Regions from separate parts of the Homo sapiens genome. Here regions 2, 3, 4 and 5 are each linked to region 1. Evidence: promoter capture Hi-C in human tissues and cell types (Jung and others, 2019). All regions are on one chromosome and are shown on one strand. Each heading gives the region's core, a stretch centred on a gene start or on the middle of the fragment in contact. The rest is flanking DNA. Distances are from core to core; before and after follow the strand shown.

Evidence for each region. The method cuts DNA at HindIII sites, captures the fragments that hold promoters and counts their contacts. A contact is called where the count stands out against the background at its distance.
Region 2: a contact is called between a fragment that was not itself captured here and the fragment with the promoter of NBPF1 in region 1, in 2 of the 25 tissues and cell types used here (H1 embryonic stem cells and stomach).
Region 3: a contact is called between a fragment that was not itself captured here and the fragment with the promoter of NBPF1 in region 1, in 1 of the 25 tissues and cell types used here (pancreas).
Region 4: a contact is called between a fragment that was not itself captured here and the fragment with the promoter of NBPF1 in region 1, in 2 of the 25 tissues and cell types used here (pancreas and psoas muscle).
Region 5: a contact is called between a fragment that was not itself captured here and the fragment with the promoter of NBPF1 in region 1, in 2 of the 25 tissues and cell types used here (neural progenitor cells and pancreas).

What each region holds. Positions count from the first base shown.
Region 1 is chr1:16,612,100-16,615,470 of GRCh38, reverse strand. It overlaps NBPF1 (NBPF member 1), which reads left to right and starts at 1,907. Exons shown (of 18, transcript NM_001405701.2): 1 at 1,907-2,133. RefSeq lists an enhancer at 1,106-2,063. The HindIII fragment of the contact is 9,860 bases long and covers 1-3,371 here.
Region 2 is chr1:16,482,900-16,486,247 of GRCh38, reverse strand. It overlaps the pseudogene CROCCP3. Among named protein-coding and RNA genes, the nearest start is that of LINC01772, 24 kb to the right of the region's middle. The HindIII fragment of the contact is 7,677 bases long and covers 1-3,348 here.
Region 3 is chr1:16,461,937-16,464,922 of GRCh38, reverse strand. LINC01772 (long intergenic non-protein coding RNA 1772) reads right to left here. Exons shown (of 2, transcript NR_147210.1): 1 at 1,636-2,986. Among named protein-coding and RNA genes, the nearest start is that of LINC01772, 2.5 kb to the right of the region's middle. The HindIII fragment of the contact is 3,814 bases long and covers 1-2,986 here.
Region 4 is chr1:16,765,206-16,768,317 of GRCh38, reverse strand. No RefSeq gene overlaps it. Among named protein-coding and RNA genes, the nearest start is that of RNU1-4, 26 kb to the right of the region's middle. RefSeq lists an enhancer at 2,379-2,879. The HindIII fragment of the contact is 4,732 bases long and covers 1-3,112 here.
Region 5 is chr1:16,856,193-16,859,304 of GRCh38, reverse strand. MIR3675 (microRNA 3675) reads left to right here and starts at 284; the gene lies at 284-356. It also overlaps the pseudogene PDE4DIPP9. The HindIII fragment of the contact is 7,627 bases long and covers 1-3,112 here.

The sequences.
Region 1 (3,371 bases), core at 658-3,157:
CCACGCCTGGCTAATTTTGCTTGTATTTTATGTAGAGACAGGGTCTCACCAAGTTGCCCAGGTTAGTCTCAAACTCCTGAGCTCAAATGATCTGCGGGCCTTGGCCTCCCAAAGTGCTTGGATTACAGGTATGAGCCACTGTGCCTGGCTCAGTCTTCCTCTCTTAAAGCAACCAATGTTATTAGTTTTATGTGGGCCACCCCATGGCTTATCATTATTAATTCAGGTGTTTATACAAGGCTCTTTGAGAACTCAGTTTTAAAGGTTACCCAAAGCATCCTAAGACAACTCAGCCTAAAACGATATAAAATCAGTTTTAATATAACTGAAGTTTCTACATTCTGACTCCAACTGTCAGATTGTGACATTTTCTCTTTCTCTGACTTTATGCCAAATTTACTTCAACTTCTAGCATCCATCATTCTCATTTATGAACAAATATGTATTTAACAAATGTGGAAATACAAATCATGAAGCAAACAAAACCAAACCCTGGGCTTACGTAGCCGATAGTAAAAAATTCACCAAAATAACCACCCGATTACAGTTTCATGCAATGTGATAGGAGTAAGGGACCACCATAGGGAGGTCAGAAGGTGCTTTTCAGAGGTGGAGACTACAGCTGTTCTCAGAAGAATAGGGGTTAGAAGAACTTTCCAGGCACAGAGCAAAGCATGAGCAAAAGCTCTGTGGAGGCCAGGAAGCTGGTAAATAGGGAATAAAAGAGGCCAGTTTGGCTGGAGCAGAGAGAGCAGAACAGAATTGGTCTGAGTAGTGAGAAGAGATGAAGAAGTGGGCAAGGCGCCTGGCCATTCGGGGCTTGGTTAGTTAGGAGGTTTTGTCTAAGAGAATGGGAAGGTGTTTAAGTGCTTTAGGCTGGGAAGTGACACGGTCACATTATATTTTGGAAAAGCCACTCTGCCTGTTGTGTTGAGATTAGAGAGGCGATAAAGGGGATATGGGTAAACCACAAGAAGACTAGGTCAGTAGTCCCTCGACCCTCACTCCCCAGGTGAAGGCAGCCTAGACTAGGGTGGTGACGGAGGAGATAGAAGAGGACAGATTCAAGGAAAATTTGGAAGGTAAAAACCAGTAGGATTTGCTGACGGATGGAGTATAGGAGGGGAGAGGTAGATTATCAGGGATGTATCTTAGTTTTCTTATACAAGATAGATTCAGTTGCAATGAAATTGTTAACTGAAATTGACTTTAAATAATGGCATGACCTAAAGTTATGCAAACATTTGCCTTAGATAAAATATCAAGTTTTCAAAGTTTTTAGCTGGGTGGACGGCATGGCTTTACTTCCTATTTCTTGGTATTCTAATCCTGTTGAAAAAAAAAGTTTTTCTTTTTCTCAAAGGCTTATTTCAGTGGAAGCCCATCTGCAAAATCTGTTAATAAATTTAAATTAGAAAATAACTACAAGTGCCATTGACACATTGGTTATTCTTTTTGAGAGTGACCTAAGGCCACCTCTGGGAGAGCTGGGGGCTCTTCTGAAGCCTGCCCGACTGCACCGCGTGCCCGTGCCTGGAAGTCAGATTCGGGGCGGTGCGGCAGCGCGAGGCCTGCAGTCCTAAGCGCGGGGTCGCTCCAGCCCCAGAGGGGGTGTGTCTCCTGCCTCTTCAACCTGGCAGGGGCTGTTCAAGTGGCCGGGGAAACCAGCGATTTGGAGGGTCGAGGGCTGGTGCTTTGAAAGACAGGCGGAGGGGAGAGAGGGATTTCCCCGTCCCCGCTGCACTCGGTCCTTCCCCTGGGTTACTCCTTTCCTCCGCCTGCGCGGCCCCTAACCTGCTCGAACCCGTTGTGCAGAAGAGGCCGCCGGGTCCCTTTAAGGCCCCGCCGCGCCTGCGCCTTGGGTTATCCTGACACGCCCATCGGGATCCTGAGGAGCCAGTGGGCTGCAGGCGCAGGCGCAGGCGAGGGGCTGGGTGGCGGTTGAGACAGCGGCGGTACTGGGAGGCGTAGGTGAGGGTCGCGAGGCTGCCCGAGCTTCTGAGCGAGCGCGGTGCTTTTGGGAACGCGGGACGGGCGATCTGCGGCGCCAGGAGCTGGGCCGAGGCGCGGCGGCGCGGCTGCCGGCTGCCCTGTGAATGGGAAGTTACGCGAAGTCCACCCAGCGTTTCTGAGGTGAGGGCGCCGCGCCAGGCTGGGCGGGCGGTGAATCCGGGACCCGCGGGCGCACAGCTGGGTCGAGGCGCGGCCGTGGCAAGTTTTGTTGCGCGAGCGCGGGGGCGGGTGGGGGCTGTGGGGGGTCGTGCACCGCCGGGGCCTGAGTTCCCCGCGCTGGATTCTTCGCCTGCCGCTGCCGCCCGCAGCCCAACTCTCGTGGGCGCTGGGGAAGAAACTCGCTGGCGGGTGTTCTGTGGCATCCCAGGGGGTGGAGGGACGGAGCAGCTTCGGGGGCACGTCCTCCTATATCCTGTAGAGGACACTGACCCCGCACCCCACCCTCCAGGCCAGAAATCCGTTCCCTCTGCGGACCTGAGAGGCGAGCGCGCTCGCGCCCCTGACTTGCAAAGTTGGGGTCTTTACTGGCCTCCGGGCTTCTGCTCCTGGCGGTGTCTCCAGGCTGGTGATGGGCAAGCCAGGTGTGCCAGCTCCAGGATGCACATGAGCAGCATTTGTAGCCATCACTGAATCACCTCCTGACTAGCGGGGCAAGCCTCAAATGAACCGCAGGATTTCGGGTAGATTGGATTGTGGGGTTGCTGTTTGCACTCCAAAGAGTTGCTGTGATTTCCCTGCGTCTGGCTGGCTGGCTGGCTTCTTAGATCATCTCATGTGGCGTCCTTTCAGCGGAGAGTTAACCAAGACGTTTGGCCTGGCTTCCTTGTTTTCCTCCTATCTTTTGCTTAGAGCTGCTTTCGAAAAGAAGTCTTTTCTGGCAGTGGTATCTTTTCTTTGGGTTACAGTGTTGTTCATCCTTTCTTTGCCAAAAGAATGAATCCCAGTGCTTCAGGAAGTTAAAGAAAAGATCTGCTGGTAGTGTTCTGAGCTGATATGCGTTAGTAGCTTTTTGTTTTTAAATTCTATTGGTAAAATTTCACTAGTGAACCAGAAGCTACTTTTTCTATTCTGAAATGCTAGCTTTAAGATTTCTGAGAACTTTGCGTCAAAGAAATCTTGGAAAAGTTACTGAAGTATACAGAAGTTCACAATTTTACATGTGCAGGTGGCCCGGGCGCAGTGATCACACCTGTAATCCCAGCACTTTGGGACGCCAAGGTGGGTAGATCACTTGAGCCCAGGATTTCCAGACCAGCCTGGGCAATGTGGCAAAACCCTTTCTCTACTAAAAATACAGAAGTTAGCTGTGTGTGGTGGCGTGTGCCTGTAGTCCCAGCTACCCGGTAGGCTGAGTTGGG
Region 2 (3,348 bases), core at 118-2,617, 130 kb after region 1:
CTTAGCCTCTTATGACAGAACTTGTGGCCGGGATCACACCTGTAATCCCAGCACTTTGGGAGGCCAAGGTGGGGCATTACCTGAGGTCAGGAGCTCAAGACCAGCCTGCCTAACAGGCGAAACCCTGTCTCTACTAAAAATACAAAACTTAGCCGGGTGTGGTGGTGTGTGCCTCTAATCCCAGCTACGAGGGAGGCTGAGACAGGAGAATCGCTTGAACCCAGGATGTGGAGGTTGCAGTGAGCCAAGATCACATCGCTGTATTCCGGCCTGGATGACACAGCGAAACTCTGTCTCAAAAGAAAACCACAAAAAAACAACTTGTGCCCCTTACTCCTGCTACCTGGACAAGTCCTCCAGTGTTTTCCCATGAGATAAAGCTGGTGGGAACCTCATTCCCATTTCACAGATGAGAAGTGTGAGGTCTGGAGAGGAGCCACAACTTGTTTAAGGTCACACAGCCAGGGAGGTGGATGTTAGGGTCCCTCCCTCGGGTTTGGAGAAGCATGGTGGACACAGAGCTAGTGGATTTGAGAGGCTGGGGTGGTCCCGTATTCACCTCTGTTGCTCCCCCAACTCCAGAGTGACAGAGCTGGGCCTGGCAGTGAAGCGTCTTCAGAAGCAGAATCCGGAGAAGGATCAGGTCAACACGGACCTCACTGAGAAGCTTGAGGCCCTGGTGAGCTGCAGCTGCCCCTGAGATGGGGCAGGGTGGGATGGGGTACCGGCCAGATCCATGGACGCAGGCTTAGGGCTGGGCTGCCTGGACCACCCCCAGCATCCCACTCACACTCAGGTTCAGCCCTCACAGGTGTGCAGGCTTTGTGGTAAGAACATTCACCTCCTCCATCCCATTTCTTCCTCCCAGCAGCCCTGTAGCATAATCCTCATGACACAGATGGGGAAACTGAGGCCCAAGAGGGGAAATGCTTGTCCAGTCTCAGAGCCAGTAAGCTGGAGAGTCGGGACTTGAACTCCCATCCGTGCTCTCCAGGTCCAGATGCTGCCTCTGGAATCCCAGCTGCCCATCCCCACTAGTGGGACACTCACTCCCCCAGGGTACAGCCTGGTTTGGTCACCCCTCTGTGTGGGGCCTGGCCTGGGTTCTAGGTCCGGCTCTCCTCCAATCGACTGTGTGACCTGGGGCAGGACACAGCTGTTCTCTGCGCCTGGTCTGTTCATTGAGGGCCTCGGGCCTGCTGTGGGGTCTACCAGATGTCTGGCCTATGGACATAGCTTCAGAGGCCACCTGGTCAGTGGTGGACCAGGAAGGGAGGGGAATGGGAGGTTTCAGATAAGACAGAACCAGGACCACCCTTTGTCTCCCTAACTACACTCCAGGAATCCCTGCGGCTACAGGAGCAGGTGGCCCTGGAGACAGAGGACGGAGAGGGGCTACAGCAGAGCCTAAGGGACCTGGCACAGGTGTGAGCCCAAAGAGGTGGGAAGACAGGGCACTGCCAGGCAGTCCTGGGCTCCCCCGCCACGACTTTTGGTGGCCTGGGACTGAACTGCAAATGGGTGGGGGCCTGGGACCCAGGCTGTAGCTGCTCAGCACCCCCGGCCCTGGGGAGCCCCCAGTCTCAGAGGGGAGGCACGGCCCTTTTGGAGGCCACCTGTGAGCTGAGGACTGAGCTAGCGGAGGAGGTGAAATCAGGAAGGATTCTTGTAAGAGGGAGCATTTGGGATGAGGCGGCCCCCAGCCTCACCTGGGCGTCTTTGCCAGCTAACACTGCGGTTCCTAACTCTGAGGCCTTCTTCTGCCTGCCTCCCCTACCCTCAGTCCGTCCTGTCGGACACAGAGCGGCGTCCAGCTGAGCGGCTCCGAGCGCACCGCGGATGACTCCTTCGGCAGCCTGCGGGGGCTCTCGGCCCAGCAGACCCCGTCCCCACCGCGGCGCTCCTCGCCCGGCCGAGGCCGTTCACCCCGCCGAGGCCCCTCCCCGGCCTGCTCAGACTCCTCCACGCTCGCCCTGATCCACTCCACCTTACACAAGCACGAGCTGCAGGTCCAGGTAGGAAGGGGCTTGAGCGTTCTGGGCTCAGCCAGAGGCCTGGAGGGAGCGTCTGGCGCCCTCCGGGTAGGGGCGGGGCGGGGGCAGGTCCGGGGCCAGGGTCCGGGGGAGGAGTCCGAGCGCCTTGGGGTGCAGCCAGAGCTCTGAGAAAGTGTCTGAGGGTGTCAGGATCCCGAAGGAGGTGGCCGAGAGCTCTGCGGTGAAGCCAGCCCAGAAGTAGGGGTGCTTGGGCAGCTGGGGGTGGGCGCTTGGGCAGGTGGAGGGAGGAGGCTGCGGCAGTGTTAGGGTCCTGGTAGAGAGGGAGACAGGTCCCTGGTCTACAGAGCCAGGACCCTGGGAAAAGGTCTAGCAAGGGGAATCAGAGCTTGGGAACTAGGGGCAGAGCCAGGGTAGGGAGGAGTCTGAGAGTGGAACCAGGATGCAAGGAGGAGGAGCCTGGGAGCCCTGGGGGTGGGGTCAGAACCCAGGAGACGAGTGTGCCTGGGGGTTTGTCTGGCATCCGGGGGGCTTTGATAGGAGTTGTCCGGGACCCCAGGGAGGTGAGGGCTCAGAGGGTGGTGAGGGCACATAGGAGGGGAGCGGGAGCCTGGCTCTCAGGCCTAGGCCCCTATCCTGCCCCAGGCCAGGTCCAGGCCCTGGACCCCGCCTAGCGTAGGCTAGTGTGTATCCCTGGAACCAGAAGAGAGTAGGTGGGCTCTGGAGGCCTCAAAGGACCCCCGCTAGACTCTGTGATCCCCGCGCCCCAGGACATGCGTGGGCGCTATGAGGCAAGCCAGGACCTGCTGGGCACCCTGCGGAAGCAGCTTAGCGACAGCGAGAGTGAGCGGCGGGCCCTAGAGGAACAGCTGCAGCGCCTGCGGGACAAGACCGACAGCACCATGCAGGCCCACGAGGACGCCCAGCGCGAGGTGCAGCGGCTGCGGAGCGCCAAAGAGCTCCTGAGAAGGTGCCGGGGAGGTCTGAGCTGGGGGTGCTGAAGAATAAGTCGGCGGCTGGGCATAACATCAGTGGAGCCTTATGCGTGTGGCTCTGCACTAATATGGTCGCCACTAGCTGCATGTGCCTATTAACGTTTAGGTATTTATTTATTTATTTATTTATTTTTAAGATGGAGTCTCGCTGTGTCACCCAGGGTGGAGTGCAGTGGCGCGATCTGGGCTCACTGCAAGCTCCGCCTCCCAGGTTCACGCCATTCTCCCGCCTCAGCCTCCGTAGTAGCTGGGACTATAGGCGCCCGCCACCACGGCCGGCTAATTTTTTTTTTTTTTTTTTTTTTGAGACGGAGTTTCACTCTGTCACCCAGGCTGGAGTACAGTGACGCGATTTCAGCTCA
Region 3 (2,986 bases), core at 389-2,888, 150 kb after region 1:
GAGATGACAAATGCAGGTCATTTTGGGCGGGTGTGGTGGCTCATGCCTGTAATCCCAGCACTTTGGGAGGCTGAGGTAGGCGGATCACCTGAGGTCAGGAGTTTGAGACCAGCCTGGCCAACAGGATGAAACCTTGTCTCTACTAAAAATACAAAAATTAGCCAGGCATGGTGGCGGAAGCCTGTAATCCCAGCTACTTGGGAGGCTGAGGCAGGAGAATCGCTTAAACCTGGGAGGTGGAGGTTGCAGTGAGCTAAGATTGCACCATTGCACTCTAGCCTGGGCAACAAGAGTGAAAATCTGTCTCAAAAAAAAATAAAAATACAAATAAATAAAGTACCTACTTACAGGCTTTGTATGGTTGGCTAAAAAAAAAAAAAAAAAAAAAAGAAAAAAAAAAAAAAACAGTATCTGTCTACATTCAAGCTGCGGTGAGGAAAAATTGGTCTTTTCCCTACTCCAGTCCACTCAGTCCACAGAGCATGGTATCTTTCTCACTCCCAGCTCATAGAAATCGACAACTATTAAGCACCTACTGTGTGCCCATGATGCATTTCAGTAGCTTTCAATCACCAATGGAATAAAGCCCCACCCTTCGCCTGTCATTCCTACTTGCCACGGCTTTCGTAAGCCATGTGGAGGGAATGGGACTTTTCATATATTAAGGGGGTCTTATGTGCCAGGCTTTGCAGGGAGCACTGCTCCAAAGAAGTAGCCACCCTGACTAAAAGCATGGATGCTGGAGCCAGACTGCCTGGGTTCAAATCCCAGCTCTGCCACTTACCAACCATGTGACTTTGAACAAATTATATAATTTCTCTGCATTTCTCATTTTCGAAACAGGGATGAGTACTGCTATAAACATTTGTGTCCACCCCCACCTCCAAATTCATACTGAAACCTAACCCCTAGTATGATGGTATTTGGAGGTGAGTTCTTTGGAAGGTAATTATGTCATAAGCGTAGAGCCCTCACAAACAGTATTGCCCTTATAAGGAAGCCCCAGCCAGGTGTGGTGGCTCACGCCTATAATCCCAGCACTTTGGGAGGCTGAGGCAGGTGGATCATGAGGTCAGGAGTTTGAGACCAGCCTGGCCAATAAGGCAAAACACCATCTTGACTAAAAATACAAAAATTAGCTGGGCGTGGTGGCATGTGCCTGTAGTCCCAGCTACTTGGGAGGCTAAGGCAGGAGAATTGCTTGAACCCAACAGGCAGAGGTTATAGTGAGCCAAGATCACACTCCAGCCTGGGCAATAAGAGCAAAACTATCTTTAAAAAAAAAAAAGGCAGTGCCATTCCCATGTGGTGGCTCATGCCTTTAAGCCCAGCACTTTGGGCGGCCAAAGCAGGAGGATCACTTGAGGCCAGGAGTTTGAGATCAGCCTGGTCAATATAGCAAGACTCCATCTCTTAAAAAAAAAAAAAAAAAAAAAAAAAAGTCCCCAGAGTACTCTATTGCCCCTTCTACCATGTGAGGTTACAGCAAAAAGACGGCCTCACCAGACACCGAATCTGCTGGTGCCTTGGACTTCCCAGCCTCCAGAACTGTGAGCAAAAAATTTCTTTTGTTTATAAACTACCCAGGCTATGTTATTCTGTCATAGTCCCAAATAGACTAAAACAAGTACTTACTGGCCAGGTGCGGTGGCTCACACTTGTAATCCCAGCATTTTAGGAGGCCAAGGCAGGCTGATCACTTGAGGTCAGGAATTTGAGACCAGCCTGGCCAACATGATGAAACCCCGTCTCTACTAAAAATCAAAAAAATTAGCCGGAAGTACTGGCACACGTCTGTAATCACAACTACTCGGAGGCTGAGGCAGAAGAACTGCTTGAACGCAGGAGGCAGAGGTTGCAGTGAGCTGAGATCATGCCACTGCATTCCAGCCTGGGCCACAGAGCGAGACTGTCTCAAAACACAAAAAAAACAAGTCCTTACCTCATGGGGTTGTAGAGATGATGCAATGAGTTTTATAAGTGCATAGAATAGTGCCTAGCAGAGAGTTAAGCATTACTTTAGCAATAAACAATAAGCATTACTTAAAGGCAACAGGAAGGCCCAAAGGAGCATCATAAGGGACCTCCCAAGGCCCTACAGCTATTAAGTCTATCCAGATTCTCTCTTTTCCACACTGATTCCCACCTCAAACACACTTTGCTAACCTTTGTGTTGGTTATCTATTGCTGCATAACCTTACCAGAAACTTAGCGACTTAACACAATACATTTACCATCTGTTCCTATGGGACAGTCTGGGCACAGCTTAGCTGGTCCTCTGCAAGGCTGCAGTCAGTGTTGGTCAGGCCTGGGGTCTCACCTGAAGGCTTACCTGGGAGTGATCAGCCTCCAAGCTTGTGTGGTTGCTGGCAGCATTTGCTTTCTTGCAGACTGCTGGACTGAGCTTCAGTTTCTTGTTGGCTGTCAGAGGCTACCTCAGTTCCTAGCCACCTGACCCTCTCCCAAGGGCAGCTCACACAACATGACAGCTTCCTTCTTCAAAGCCAGCAAGAGAATTTCTCAGCAAGGCAGATGTTGCAGTCTTACATAAGGCAACCATGAAAATAACATCTTGTCACCTTTGTGGCACTCTACTGGTTAGCAGTCACAGGTCTAGGCCATCTCAAGGGGCAGGGAGTACATAAGGCTGTGAACAGCAGGTGGGGATCACAGTGACCACCTGGGAGTCTATCTGCCACACCTCCCAGTGCATCCAAATTCTGTTGTGCAGAGGGCAAGTGAGGTCTAGCATACCCCCCAAGAAAGCAGCCATCTTCTACCATCCACCCACCAGTTTGTAAACTCCAGTCAGGGGTGTAATTGAAGTGATGCCTGGTTTGGGATTGAGTTTTCCTGGAGATTCTGGTCCTGTAATGAGTTTTTTCCAGCTGGGATTCCAGTTAGTGATGGACAGCATCAAGCTGTCCCTTGCTCCTGGCCCCAGACCCCACAAGGTGCTTTTCAGGCTAGATTCCTGAGGGCTGTG
Region 4 (3,112 bases), core at 480-2,979, 150 kb before region 1:
GGTAGAAAACATGTCCTTGCTCTGTAGATGCCTCCATTCTGTCTTCCAGAACCTGAGAGAGAAGAGCAAGGATTTGGACTGTGGCCTAGAGAGGGAATTTGCAGCTCTCTTTCCCAAGGAATGAATCGCAGCCCCTCAGGCTGGAACAGGCAGGTGCTGCGAAATCTGGCTGACAGGTCAGCTTCAAGGTGATGTGCTTGCTGAGTCTTCTCTCCTTTCAGCTAAGCTCTCATCACGCCCCTGGTGCCTGGTAAAAGTAAATAATGATGACTGAGCGTATGAAGCAGGAGGGTCTCTACACACCTGTAATTACTACCTAGCAAGTCCCTGCAGAACCCAGGAGTTCCCCCAGAGAGCCAGTGGGGCCGTTTCTGGAGAGAGTAAGTCAACGTGGGTCCTCCAGGCAAGATCTAGCTGGAGGAAGTAGAATTAAAACTTCTATCACTGGACGGATGTTTTGTCACTTGGCGGGAAAGTTCCAAGTCAAAGTTCCCAGTTTCCTAAGCTGTTATAAACCCGGTTGAAATGCTCACATACACCTGTGAGTGTCTCAAAACAAACAAAGCATAATCGCCTTAGAGCAGCACTGTCTCATAGAAATATAATGTGAACTACATGTTATTTAAAATTCTCTAGAAGCCACTTTTAAAAAGAAACAGGTGAGATGAATTTTAATAATACGTTTAACTTAACCAACCCAAAACATTATCACTTCCTCATGTAATCAATATAAAAAATTGCTGGTGAGATATTTTACCAAGTCTTCAAAATCTGGATGTATATTACATTTTCGGCACATCTCACTGTGGACGAGGCATGCTTCAGGTGCTAAGAGCCACACAAGCTGTGTGCCATGTTGGACACTGCAGCCTTTGAGGCTGACATTTACACCTCACCACCTTTTGAGAGCACCTGATGCATGATAGATTTCCCACAAACATTTCATATAGAAGAGTGAACCTGTTATATGTGAAGTTTTACTTGATCTGAATATACTAGTGCTCTTAATAAAATAAGAATTACTAAAAAATTTCCTTTGAATAGTGCCAGGCGGGTCTGAAACCCAGCCTTGACTGATATTTTCATGTGCTGATAACAGCAACCAAAGTATCGTGACTTCGGTTAATAATTGATTGCTCCTTGCAGGGGAAAAATAAATAAAACCGGAATCTGACTGCTCCACCCCTTAGGGCAGCTTACTAACGTCTGGATGAGCATGCTTGTGTTCTTGCACTCTCTGGGAATTAGACACAAAAACTGCCCTCAAGGACAGCACAGCCCAGGGACAGCCAGGCAGACCAATGCCTAATACTGCATGTGTGCAGGGGGTTGTGTTGGCAACAACATGAGTGGCTTTCCTGGAGTGGAGGCTCCAGCTCTGCATCCTGAAGAGGGACTAGGAGGTCCTCAGGGAGGAGGGCAGGAAGGAAACATCCAGTGGAGGAAGCGGTAGGCACAGAAGTTTGCAGCCACTTGAAAAGCAGGGAGGCACAGGACCTTAGGACCCTTCTATAGCAGTCCCGTAAGCCCAGAGGGAACCATTTCAGAGTGGGACAATCTACGGCAGCGTTGTCCGACCAAAATACTTGCAAGCCACATGTGTGATGGATTTCAGGAGCCACTGAAGGGTCAAAAGACAGAGATACAATTAATTGTAATGACCTGTTTTTAGCTTAACCCACGTTGTCCAAAGCTTTATCATGTCACCGTGTGAGATACCTCACGTTCTTTTTCATGAAGTCTTTGAAATGTGAGGTGTCCTTGACACCAAGAAGGCATGCATGAGTCTAGATGCAGTGTGTATATATAGTGAGTAGTAACCTCTGCTCACGTTCCTGGGTCCAAAAGAGAGATCAGGACAGCTTCAAGGGAGAGGGCTAGGGATGAAAAAGGAGATAATGTCGCCCACCACTTCTGAGGGGACAACAGACTGCGCCAGGCGCTGTAACCCGGGGGAAACGGAGGCAGCAGCTTCTCCCACGTGCTCCCAAAGGTGTCCGTGTCAACAGCATTAACTACCAAACAGAGCACTGAGGAACATTTGCTAAATGCTGCCAAGTGCCCGGACACCAGATCACAAGGCTGGCCCAGAAAAGAGCAAGTGCACCTGTGGGGGAGGAGGGCAAGTCCCCGTCGTCGGTCATCCCAGGTCACAGGGGTGCCTTTCCCTCCACTGCCAGGGAAATGCACATGCAGGCTGCCTAATGTGGAAATGTTTGGATCTGGAACAGAGAGGCTCTCAGGCCGGCGGGGAGGAGGCAGGGTGACAGTAACCAGCCGCACCGGAATGACGATGGGGAGCGCTGCACCTACGGCTTGCCAAGACCCCAGCAATATCTTTCCTACTAAGTCTAGCAGTGCCTGAGGCTCGCCTCCGAAGAACAGCCTCTCCCTTCCGCCTCTGTCTTCTTTAAGGGAGAGGGAGTGCAAGCCAAACCCAGCAAGCACTTGGACGCCGCCCTGCTCTCCCCGGGGCTCTGGGCTCTGCAACAGATCCGCTTTGTGAATGAAAGAGGCATCTCTCCAAGATGGCGCGCTCTACCCTGAGGGCACACCATGCACACGCCACTCCTCCAGCTGGTCTCGGGGACTGCAGTCCTTCTCTCCTGGATGGGTTGGGGGTGGGGGGCTGTTGAGAGCTTTCCTCCTCCTTTTCTTCTTCCTCCTCCTCCTGTCTCCCTAACCCTGGAAGGGGGCCATCCACTGAACTTCGGAAAGAGGTCACCCTCCCTGAAAAGGGGACTTGGATTGCTGCATCCAGAGCCACCCCCTGTGGTCCCTCAATCTAGCCACACTCAGTTGCTAAAGCAGGGAGAGGTTTCCTAGTCCGGTGTTCCGGCCCCACGCAAACGGAGCTCAGGATGACGCCACATGTGTGTTTGAGTCAAAGCGCTTTTAACTGTGGCTCCAAGAACAGCCTGTACAGCCACTTGAGTTTCCCCGTAACAAGGAATGTACAATAGATGAGACTTTACTGGCAAAACAATTTTTAAAAGTAAAGGGAGAAGCAGCAGCCCAGCCTTGTCTCTTTATAGGGTCCTAGAGAACCGGTGGTGGCTGGGTTGAAAAGCACAGCGCTTAGCCATTCAGCAGTTTATGACCTCAGTTTACC
Region 5 (3,112 bases), core at 85-2,584, 240 kb before region 1:
AAGCCCTGTGGCCAACCTACTGGTGCTGAGTGTGCTGGTGAGCCTCTCTGTCAGCTGGCTTCCCCGGGCCAGTTGCTCCCGGAAGCTCTGTCCCAGGTAGTAGTCAATGTCATTGCTCCTTAAGAGATCCTCAAAAGATTTTACTGTATCTTTTGCATGCTGGGTGAGAAGATAACAAACACCTCTCCCTTCTCGTATTTTTTGCCGTAGGTAAGACAGTTCCCGGGGCTGATCCTGAATCAGGGAATCATATTTCCTAATGCAGGACAGAAGAGGAAAGGGTGGATGATAAGTTATGGGGCTTCTGTAGAGATTTCTATGAGAACATCTCTAAGGAACTCCCCCAAACTGAATTCTGGCACGTAAGCCATAGGAGGTATTTAAGAGTAAATTCTACCCTGATAAATTATTGCACTAAAAATTTAGTATGGGCCGGGCGTGGTGACTGACGCCTGTAATCCCAGCACTTTGGGAGGCTGAGGCAGGCAGATCACAAGGTCAGAAGTTCGAGACCAGCCTGGCCAATATGGTGAAACCCCCTCCTCTACTAAAAACACACAAAAAAACTAGCTGGGCATGGTGGCACATGCCTGTAATCCCAGCTACTTGGGAGGCTGAGGGAGGAGAATTGCTTGAACCTGGGAGGGAGAGGTTGCAGTGAGCCGAGATGGCACCACTGCACTCCAGCCTGGGTGACAGAGTGAGACTCTGTATCAAAACAAAACAAAACAAAAAATTTACCATGCCACTGTTCTTCAACTGTTCTATATATGTTAATTATATGTCCCTAGATAAATCGTAAGGTCTGTGAGAATGAAGATAGTTCTGCGTTTCACATCCCTTACAGCACCAGCATCACAGAGATTCACAGCAGATACTCAATGAATAATTAGACTCATCTCATCCTAAGTCTAGATAGGACCTTTCATGTCTTCTGTTTTAACCACCACCTGATGTCTGAATTTCTTCTGTGTTGTGATACTGTGGCTGACTGTATTTTGCAATCATGGCCATCACATAAACTCTCATGCCATCAACTGATGAGACCCAAAACAAGAGACCCTAAGTGAGAGCCACCCAGCTGAGCCCAGTCAAACCACAGAACCATGAAGCATAATAAAGTACTGTTTGAAGTCACTAAGTTTTAGAGTGGTTCTTACTTAGCAGTAGATAACCAGGACGCATACCAAGATGAATGTCTGTGTTTTCAACACAAAGTGTCAATAACACTGATAACTATGGCAAATAGCATTGAGAGCTTAATGTATGCTGGGCACCATTCTAAGCACTTGTACTAATTTTTTTTTTTTTTTGAGACAGAGTCTTGCTCTGTCACCCAGGCTGGGGTGCAGTGGTACCATCTCGGCTCACTGCATCCTCCACTTCCCAGGTTCAAGCGATTCTCCTGCCTCAGCCTCCTGAGTAGCTGGGATTACAGGGGTGCACCACCATGCCCACCTAATTTTTATATTTTTAGTAGAGACAGGGTTTCACCATGTTGGGTAGCCTGGTCTCGAACTCCTGACCTCGGGTGTTCTGCCCACCTCAGCCTCCCAAAATGTTGGGATTACAGGCATGAGCCACCACACCTGGCCAGCACTTGTATTAATTCATTTAAACCTAATATCCACCCTTTGAGATGGGTTCTGTTATCATCCTCATTTAATAGGTAATGACAAAGGCTCAGAAAGGTTAAGAAGGTTGCATGGGTAGTAAGCATCAGAGCTAGGCAGTCTGATTCCAGTATTACCACTATACTATGCTATACTATACTATACTATACTATACTATACTATACTATACTATACCATATGTACTATTACTTTACTGATATATCCCTAAGAGGAAATCCCTGAGATCTGGTATCTCCCAGATACTGGGACATCATCCTATGCCCTCCTGCTTGCCTACCTGTCTTTTCCACAGACCTATATCTACCATTTAAATCAGTGTCCTTGTGAATACCCAGACATGTTGTTTCTTCCAACTGCCTGAGCTACCCTACACCAAGCACAAACTTACACATTTTCAATCCAGAAAGTGCCCAGACAGTGCCATCCTTACCCAGGCCATGAGGCTGATCTCAGCTCCTCAGCCAGCTTCCCTTCTAGTCAATTTTTTGGGAGCTGGGCCTCCAGCTGGGATACTCTCTGGATGAGACTCTTCAGGTCCTTTTTGGCCTGAAGTCCTGGAGAGTAGAAAGCCCCAGTGCCATCAGACAGCCACACCTCATCCTCATCAGTGACACTATGAGGTGAAGACCCCTCCAGGGTGTCAGGAGCTCTCAGCTTCCAGGGTCTTTCCAGACTAGATGAATAATCACTTGTAACTGAGAGGGACTGGACCTGGCTCTTGAAGTTTTGAATGACCTTGTTGGCATTCTGCAGCTGGGCCTTCAGATCTTTGATGTCCTTTCATAGGACCCAGATGTTTTCTGACTTTCCATATACCCAGAACTCTTCCTGCTTCCCTAGTTCATTCTCCAAGGGCTTCCTCTCAGAGGAACTAGCCAGCGTTCAGCCCCGGCGCCCCTGCTCAGAGCACAGCCCCTCCACCAGGACCATTTCCTTGCGGCTGCTGTGCTCCTCATGCTCTGAAAAAAGACAAAGATGTCTTCCTGAATAAAAGTTGGATGTGCTGTTGTGGCCACTGCCTTTGAGAGGAGGCAGGTTTGGTCATGAGGATAATAATTACTAGGGAAAAAGGTGAAGTCGTACTTTATTCAACCCTGACACTGTACTAGGCATTCAAATACAGTATTTCTTATCCTCCTTATACCCACAAGTTAGGTTTCACCACTCTCTATTTTACTGACTGGGGAAACCAAAACTTAAAGAGAGGTGGTAAACCAGCTTGTTCTAGATCACTCAAACTAGCACGTGGCAGAGCCTGAATTCAAATCCTCCAACATCCTGTGTTCATTCCACACACACTGATGTTTCTCAAGACATTATTAACATGGCCTTATCTAGTTAGGATAGCCACAAGAATGTAGGACAAGCTATTTCTGCATGCTGCAAGTTTAATGCTCTCTAAAGTTTACTATAATTTAAAAGTTTATTGGGTTATAACTGTGTGAAAAATAGGCAAAGGAAAATAAGAGTTTGAATAA